Regions from separate parts of the Homo sapiens genome. Here all the other regions are linked to region 2. Evidence: promoter capture Hi-C in 16 types of primary human blood cells and fetal thymus (Javierre and others, 2016). All regions are on one chromosome and are shown on one strand. The core of a region is centred on a gene start or on the middle of the fragment in contact, and the rest is flanking DNA. Distances in the headings are between cores, read along the strand shown. Region 1 has its middle 4.7 kb from the start of LAMB1. Region 2 holds the start of LAMB4 (laminin subunit beta 4). Region 3 overlaps LAMB4 (laminin subunit beta 4).

Evidence for each region. Contacts are between HindIII fragments. The CHiCAGO score rates a contact against its expected background, and 5 or more counts as called.
Region 1: a fragment that was not itself captured here is called in contact with the fragment with the promoter of LAMB4 in region 2 in 1 of 17 cell types (endothelial precursors); the score reaches 5.3 in endothelial precursors.
Region 3: a contact is called between a fragment that was not itself captured here and the fragment with the promoter of LAMB4 in region 2, in 1 of 17 cell types (endothelial precursors). The highest score is 5.2, in endothelial precursors.

Annotation. Positions count from the first base shown.
Region 1 is chr7:108,006,449-108,009,282 of GRCh38, reverse strand. No RefSeq gene overlaps it. Among named protein-coding and RNA genes, the nearest start is that of LAMB1, 4.7 kb to the right of the region's middle. The HindIII fragment of the contact is 4,097 bases long and covers 1-2,834 here.
Region 2 is chr7:108,128,925-108,131,714 of GRCh38, reverse strand. LAMB4 (laminin subunit beta 4) reads left to right here and starts at 1,354. Exons shown (of 34, transcript NM_007356.3): 1 at 1,354-1,409. The HindIII fragment of the contact is 5,422 bases long and covers 477-2,790 here.
Region 3 is chr7:108,051,250-108,054,090 of GRCh38, reverse strand. It overlaps LAMB4 (laminin subunit beta 4), which reads left to right. Exons shown (of 34, transcript NM_007356.3): 26 at 1,834-1,994. Among named protein-coding and RNA genes, the nearest start is that of LAMB1, 50 kb to the right of the region's middle. The HindIII fragment of the contact is 948 bases long and covers 856-1,803 here.

The DNA of each region.
Region 1 (2,834 bases), core at 31-2,530, 120 kb after region 2:
TCAGCCTCCCAAAGTGCTGGGATTATAGGCGTGAGTCACCACGCCTGGCCAACAAATGACCATTTTTAAGACAGTGTTGATAAAGTCCTGCCTGCATCAGTCAATATGCTGCAGTTTTTTTAAAGCCTCCTAAATTTCAGGCTAAAAACAACAAGTTTAGGTCTCTCTCATGCTACATGTCTAGAAAAATGTATTGGCTAAGGTAAAGTGTACTGGCTTCAGGTATAGCTGGATCAAGATACTCCAAAGTGTTCTTCAAGGACCCACCCTCTGGTTCCCTCAGATCTTCTTTCCTTTGTGTTGGCTCCAGTCTCAAGCAGCCTCCACCAGTTCCAGGCTGACATTCACATAACTCCCAAGTCCAGAGGGAAAAAGAGGTGTTTTTTGTTTTTTGGTTGTTTGTTTTTTCCCAGGAATTCCAACAAAAATCCCAGAGTCATCTTATCTAGAATATATGAGTTTCATATCCATCCCTGAACCACTCACTAGAAAGAGGAAGATGGAAATGCACTGAATAGCCTGGAGTTCATGGGGGAATTAGCCCTATTCAAATCAAGTAAGCTGAAAATGGGAGAGGACTAGTCCCTCAAGGAAAATCCAGCCAATGTTACCAGATGAAGGGAGGATGAATGTTAACGCAAGCCCAAACTACTGTTTGCATTATATGGTTCGAGGCTTAAAATGTTGTGACTTCCTGCCTGGTTTCAGGCCCTGATGGTTTTCCTATTACAGAGGGTAGCAATAACGTCCCCTGTGTGTTCCCTTAACAATTATAAAGAAGGTTACTCAATTTTATTCATCCAACAAGCAGATATTGTGTGTCTATAATATACTAGAAACTGCCACCTGACGGGAATCCAAAGTCTAATGAAAGACAGTCTCTGCTTCTGGGAAGAAGGAAACTAAAACAAAACTACAAATTACTGTTGTACGTATTATAAAAGACATATATATATATAAAGTATAGCATGACATTTGACCTGAATCTTACTGGTCATTGAATTTACTTTTCTAGATCAATTCTGAATCTCACAAAATGCACTTAAATCTAATTTTTAAAACAGAAAAATCTAGTATTTTTCATGAGAACAATGTTATATAAATAGCCACATTTCAGGACCCAAAGATTGAAGTCTAGAATGTAGCATCCTTGTTGTTCTACTGTCAATCAGGATTTCAAAGGAGACACACACGGTGTTCTAAGACTGTGTGAAAGTGAAGGTGACCTTGAAAACAGTTCTTGTTTTGTTTTCAAACGAAAATAATAAATGCTGCAGGGAGATAACTGTCACACATTCTTTGAGACAGAACAGCCAACAATTTGCAATCCCATCTGCCATTTAAACTGCTGCAGAATTCTTTGGTAAAGACTGCTTTATGCTAAAGCAGGTAGTGCCAGCTTAGTACAAATGATAGACGAGAGAGGGTTGTGTTGACAGCCAGAGCAAAGCCCTGGACAGGCTTACTAACAGAAGAGATTCATTCCTCCTCAACTTGTCACATCTTCACAAATCAGAGGAAATTGTATGAAATATAATAGACGAGAAGAATTTGTGAGTGAAACTTGGAATTATTCCCAAAATTAAGTCAAGTGGTGGTATTTCTTTTTCTCTTTGGCTAGAAATTCATATTAAGGTAGAAAAAAGTGGACATTTAAGATTTAAGGAAGTTTTTAAAACATGGAGACTAGTCTTCATTTACTTTCATTCGAGACACACTTATTGAGCACATGTAATGTGCCTCATTTTATGCAAGGCAACATTAATGCAAAAACGAATGTTACACAATACTTGTCCTTGTCTCACTGTCTATTGGGGGAGATAAGGGCATAAACAAATAGTTACAGCATTATGTTATATATGCTGTAACAGGCTTTTACAAGGAGGAGGAGAGAGAGGCTCATGGAGAAAGTCATGTTTAAGAGGAGTCTTCAAAGGTGTGCAGTTCACTAAGTTGACAAGGTCAAGGAGGACCCACGTAGTGAAAGGAAAGCCATGAAGGAATAAAGTATGTCATACACAGGGAAGGAGCAGAGGGCAGCCATTGAAGGCTTTTGAATAAGGGAATGACATGATCAAAGTTTTGACTCTGAAAAAATCCTTCTGCGGGTATTAGGAAGGATTAGACTGAAGAGAGGAAGAGTCTGGAAGTAGGAACACTTGTCGGGGGCTCTGGCAGGCATTCAGACTGAAATCTAAGGGAGGGCAATGAGGTTGGAGCAAGGGGACATGCTGGCTAGTTGCTAGGAAAGTAGAAATGACAGGACCTAGTGATGGGGAGGGGAGGGAATGAAGGAACGAGAGGTGCCCAAGATTCCCAGGCTAGGCTGGCTTCATGGGCATGTGATTTGTGCAATTGCACAGCACCCCCTACCCCACTCAGGAGAGTCCCATGCTAGGTTTAATGCTCTTTCACTGTCTTTACATTAATAATAATAGAGGGGCTCCACATTTGTGCCCTGCTAATCATGCAGCCAGTCCTGTTCCCAGATCTCCGTCTTGAGCTAAGGGGTGGATTATGGTGCCAATAATTGAAATGGGAAACAGAAGACAGAACACATTTTGTTGTAGGAGAGGTGGGTGGAGAGATTTCAGTTTTGCCACAGATGAATTTCATTTACCTATGGGTCATCAAAGTAGAGATATTCAATGGCCTGTTGGAAATGGTATGTAAATTCCAAGTGAGGTACAAGCTAGAGATATGGGAATTAGAGGTTGAGGAGAGTCCAAGTGATGCACCCCTGGATATGGATGAGTAAAGGGAGCAGAAAAGAGAGACAGAACCTTTGGTAGCACCAATGTTTAAGGGATCAGAGAAGGGCAAGATAAATGGGA
Region 2 (2,790 bases), core at 105-2,604:
TTTAAAAATTATATAAATTTTAATGCCTAGAGTTTATGCTTTGCACAATAATTTAAGAGTCTAAAGGGAAAATAGTATTGGTCTAATAAAACAGATCACAAACCCGTCAATTGAACAAACTGAAAGTCCCTTGATTTCACTCACACACTTTGCTGAAGTATCCACCTAAAAACCAAATACTGCTCTTTGGTCTCCTACCACCTGGTACTTTGTGGCAGCTGTTGGCTTGTAAAAAATAAATAAAACAAGTTAGTTTAGCAAATATTGACTGCAAGCTTCTTCTATACTTCATCCTAAAATGGAAAAGACATGTTCCTGCCCTCTTGGAGTTTGCTTTCTAGTACATCAGAAGTGAGCAGATGAACCTGACCTATAGGGAACAAAATTAAAAACAGTGGCATCGATGGAAAAATAGAGCAATAAATTAAAACACAAATAACAGGTAAGAAGCATTGAAAAATACCCTTGAAAAAGCTTAAAGGCCTGTAAGAGTGGTATTTGGTGAAAGTTTGTTGAATCTATTTCCTGATTTGTAAATGTTGTGTAAAAATGAGCATCTCATTTTGGCTCAGTTCACAATCATTTTTCTTCCCTAAGGGTATTTTCCATGAGCTTCTAGAAATCCTAAATGTTTTTTCAAGCAACCAATAAACTTACCCATTGAAACTGCACAGATTTGAAATGGAGATATTAATCCACTGACAAGTGAATAAAATGTAAGATTGCTGTAGGTTCATTTCTATACTATAAACCTTCCTCGTAGGAGAATGAAATTTCAAACCACATGGATTCCAAAACCACTTAAACTTGCCATTCCCACAATGGTTAGTTGTACTTGCCGAATCACAAGGTAAACAGAAATCTATGAGCCATTTAAGATGATCTTGAGCCAGGTAGGACTGGTCAGAGCCTTGGGAACCCATCTGAAACTATTCCACCTGGTCCGCCTGAAAGTAGATTGGGATGGAGTCAGGGGTCTCACATTCCTGAGAAACAAGCCCATCTAATTCCGCACATTTTATAGCTGGTAAGTATCAAGCTGTCTGAAAATGACCGCTAAAACATGAACCAGAAAAACATAAATAAATCAGGGAACAAAATGTCTGTGCATTATTCCTGGCTATTAAAATTGGTTTTAGAGAAAACAAGAAAAATATTTGCTGTAAAACTGAGCTCTATTTCCCTGTTTATGTGTGTGTGTGGGTGTGTGTGTGTGTATAAGTTAAAACTTAAGTGACTTCACAAATCACCTTTTTGACAGGCATTGGAATACCTCTTGTCTTTTTTTTTCCCTACTTTTAGGTGCCTCGGGGAGAATGTTTTCTACATAAACTGGCTCTAACTTTCAGGTGTGTCTTCACATGCCCCGTTTGCTGCCTGAACCTCTCCACAAAGACTCCCAGATCCTGGTAAGTCTTGCCTGCTCTCTCACTAGCAAATTGGCATTTTTATGGATTAAATGAAGGTATTAGAATTTAGGGGGTAAGTGGAGTTGTCATAAAGTAAGAAATGGGACATATTAGCACATAGATTACTATTACTTTTACAGAATGATAGTCCAATGACACTTAAATAAAGGTTCTTGCAACATAAAACAGTATCCAATGGGAAAATTGATGTTAGTGCATTGTGATATGAAGCCAACAACTTGAGCCTTACTGTACCTTGAAGGGAGCTTCAAATGATGTAGTGTTGAAATGTACAACTGTATTGTGTTTTCAGCAAATGTTTGTTTTTGTTATGGTTATAAAACTTATGACAACTTATAAAAGTTTAAATGCATTAGAACTACCCATATTTTCAAAATATTTTGTTAATGTTCTAGATATGTGTAAATATTGTTTTAAGAAAAGCAAGTCTGCTATAACTAAAAGAAACATAAACTTGGCCGGGCATGGTGGCTCATGCCTGTAATCCCAGCCCTCTGGGAGGCCGAGGCAGGCAAATTGCTTGAGCTCAGGAGGTCAAGACCAGCCTGAGCAACATGGCGAAACCCCATCTCTGTAAAAACTATACAGCCGTAGTGGCACATGCCTGTAATCCCAGCTACTCAGGAGGTTGAGATGGAAGGACTGCTTAAGCATGGGAGGTTGAGGTTGCAGTGAACCAAGAATGTGCCACTGTACTACAGCCTGGGTGACAGAGGAAGACTCTGTCTCCAAAAAAAAAAAAAAAGTAAACTTTATAGTTCTGTATTCTGCATTCCTCACTATGATGAAATTTAGGCAAAACAGTTGAAATATCTAATGAGTCCTGACATAACATGAAAAAAAGTTAGACAAAGGAAAGTTAAATACAAGATTTCTGAGAACTGTCACTTTATAGACAATTATTTGTGTACCAGAAAAAGTCTTAAGGGCTAATATAAATGTATTTATAATTATCTTCTGTGTTATAAATTACTGTCCAATTTGCAGAAGAAAGGTGCTGTAGTAGAAACAGGAGCGGAATGCATGTCTTTCCTGCGGAGAGGCTCTTATCAAACACGATGCACCTGTGGTTCTAGGAGCTGGGCAAATGGGCACCACATGGCCCTTTTCTCTTCATCTGTTTCATCCAAATTGTTTTGACAAAAAAGAGTAAACTCTTTGCAGCCTTCAAGTGAGAGCAGATGAGGCAAATATAAGTGAATGGTCAGTAAATTAAATAAATTAGCAATGCCAGAAAGTTACTTTCAGTCTAATATATTTCACTGTTTATTGCAACACTTAATACATTTTAAGACCAGTGTCATCTAGCAGCATTCATTAAACGGCTACCAAAATGCACCCAGCGCCTTTGGAAATACGT
Region 3 (2,841 bases), core at 80-2,579, 78 kb after region 2:
TGATTGTGCCACTGCACTCCAGTCTGGATGATAGAATGAGACCCTGTCTCTAAAAACAAAAAAGCAATACAACTTCTGCGTTGCAAGATCTAGACCCCTATGTTAACAGATCTCCTCAATTTTCAAGAGATGTCAGACATCCATATTTTTACTGAACTATCCCCACTTCAAAATGTATACAGCTAATCCAATAGCACTTGTAAGAAGCCCTACTGTATAGCCCAAAGAAAACTTGTCTGAGAATGAGCTTTGGCCCATGGACCACAAGCTTGTGGTTAGACACCATTAGGAAAATGTCGGACAAAGCACAAAGAAAGCAGAATGAGCCAATCCACCATGGACGTTCTGGACAGAGACTGCAAGAGCCACAGGCAGAGCCAGAGAGAAAGAGCGAGAAAGAGGAGTGCCCAGCCCAGGTCTGGAGTGAGGAGAAAGCAGTGGCTGCTGAGCTTCTTCAACCAGCAGCCCAGAGGCCTGTTCCCTCCTAGCCCACCTGCCAAACTCCTACTTCTCTTTAACAGCCACACAAACATCACCTCCTCCCTGAAGCCTTTCCTGACTTCCTCACAGAGAAGCCTGTATTTCCTTCTCCATCTTCTCACCTCTTTATGCTCCTTTGCCATTGCCTCGCTGTGGGGCACCCTGGACAGGGCCTGCCTTCTCACGTGCTTGTCTTCTCCAGGCCTCATGTAGTTCTATTAAAAAAAATGTTGCTGGGTAAACTACAGGTGGAAGGGGAACAGGAGGACAAAGAACCCCAGGTGTCATGAGCATAAATTCAGAAGTCAAACTACCCGGTTTAAATCCACTTACTAAATGTGTGGCTTTCGGCAAGCTACTAAACTCCTCCAAGCTTCAATTGCTTCATCAAAAGAGAGAAAGTCTGGATTTCATAGGATTCTTGTGAGAATTACTCAAGACCCATCACTTAGCATAGTGTCCGGCATATGTAAGTGCTTAAGGAGTCCCAATTAGAGTAATTATCATTATTTTTATTGTTATTATTGTTAGCCTGAAGAATTGCAGTTGTGACAATTGGAGCCTGAAGGAAGAGTCTATAGATTAGAGGGGAGAGTTACAAAAGAAAATGGAAGGAAGCATTGCCATTGTGCCAAGATAAATTAGTCCCATAAATTCATTTTATAACTTCCCCCAACTGTACACTTCAAGATTTGCACAGTTTCTCCATCATGAGGAATGTGTTCATTATCCCCTCGAAGTAACAGTAGGTGCTAAACCCAGCAAATTGAAGCACAACAAAGGTGTACCCCATCAAAGAAGAAGGTGATGGAAAAAAACCCAGGGGAACACTCACCAGCAAGAAAACCTCCCTGTCACTAATGGAAAATAAGAGTTGGGACCCTGAACAGAAGTTACACTAAAAAGAACCTTGCTGAATGCAGATTGATTCTAAATGAAGACCTGATTTGACCCCAGGCTAAGTAAACGGTTCTATTTTACCATATGTTGAAAGCCAAAAGCTCCCTTAGATTGATTTAATTGAAGCATGTCTGAATGCATGTTTTGAAACCCAAAACGAAGAAAGACAGAGCATAAACAGTCAAAATGGAATGATTTGAGAGCCTTTATTCTACTAGACCTGGTATGCTGTCCATATTTTAAATGAATGTTGCAATAGTCCAGGAAGGTGAATTAAGATGAAAGAGATGAGACATAAACACAATTATAAACCGTCAAATGAAAAACTCGAGTAGAAGGAATCCCTTCTAATCAAGAATTCCTAACAATGAGGGCAATTTTGGTGGCATTTTTTTCACCAATATATCAAATGTAATACAAGCTTAACTACATTTACCCTTATTTCCTCTATAGAAGACAAATCATGCAGCTAAATGAACAACTGAAAGCAGTGTATGAATTTCAAGATCTGAAAGATACAATAGAAAGAGCAAAGAATGAAGCAGACCTCTTACTTGAAGACCTTCAGGAAGAAATTGATTTGCAATCCAGTGTCCTTAATGCAAGCATTGCGGGTAAGGGAAAAATGTATTTTTGACTGTGTCTGCACAAAGTTTGATGAAATCCACAGTGCATTCCATTAGTGAGTCGTCCCCTGCTTACCACCATAGTGCCTGAGCACTTTAGAACATGCAAACACAACCATTAAAGGTATTATTTGTTCATGGATATTTCAACTTTTTAAACATCACAGAGCCTGGCTAGCATTCACTCAAAAATAACAAGTAAACAATGTCTGATATTAAACAAATGCTAACACCCAAAGTAATCTAGTGCCAAACCCATGTAAGGGGTCTTGAATAATCAACAACTTAGAAATTCTAATATGGCCATAAGCAAATGAGAGAGACATGTTTATATGCCTTTCTCGGTATAGGCCACTCCATTTTCAGTGACCATAAATGCAATGGAATGTGAGGCAAAAAAAACCCCACAATATTTCTCATAAGAGCTTTGTAAGAATGAGAGTCATGCAACATACTACACACCCTTAACTCATATTGCATAGTTCTTAAAACTGAATGTGAGCTATGCCTAAGCCAAGATAATTTGCAAGAGAAATGGAACTCTAAAGCAAAACTTTTGATTAGTTCATCTCCTATTCAAGATCATACCCCTGTTATATTTGGAAATGGACAACCTGTTACTACTGAGAGAAGCATCACTGAGTTTATTCACACCTAAGCCATCCAATTGAGAGACAGATGGAAAATATACATGAATCCATGTCAGGAAAAAACTTTGGCTGCTTTCATTGTCCTATGTATATACTCCTGTGTTTTATCTGATTTTGACCTAGAAGAGAAAAAAAAAATAGAAGGCAGGTAGGAATACCTAATTTCCCTAAAGGGATGCCTAAAT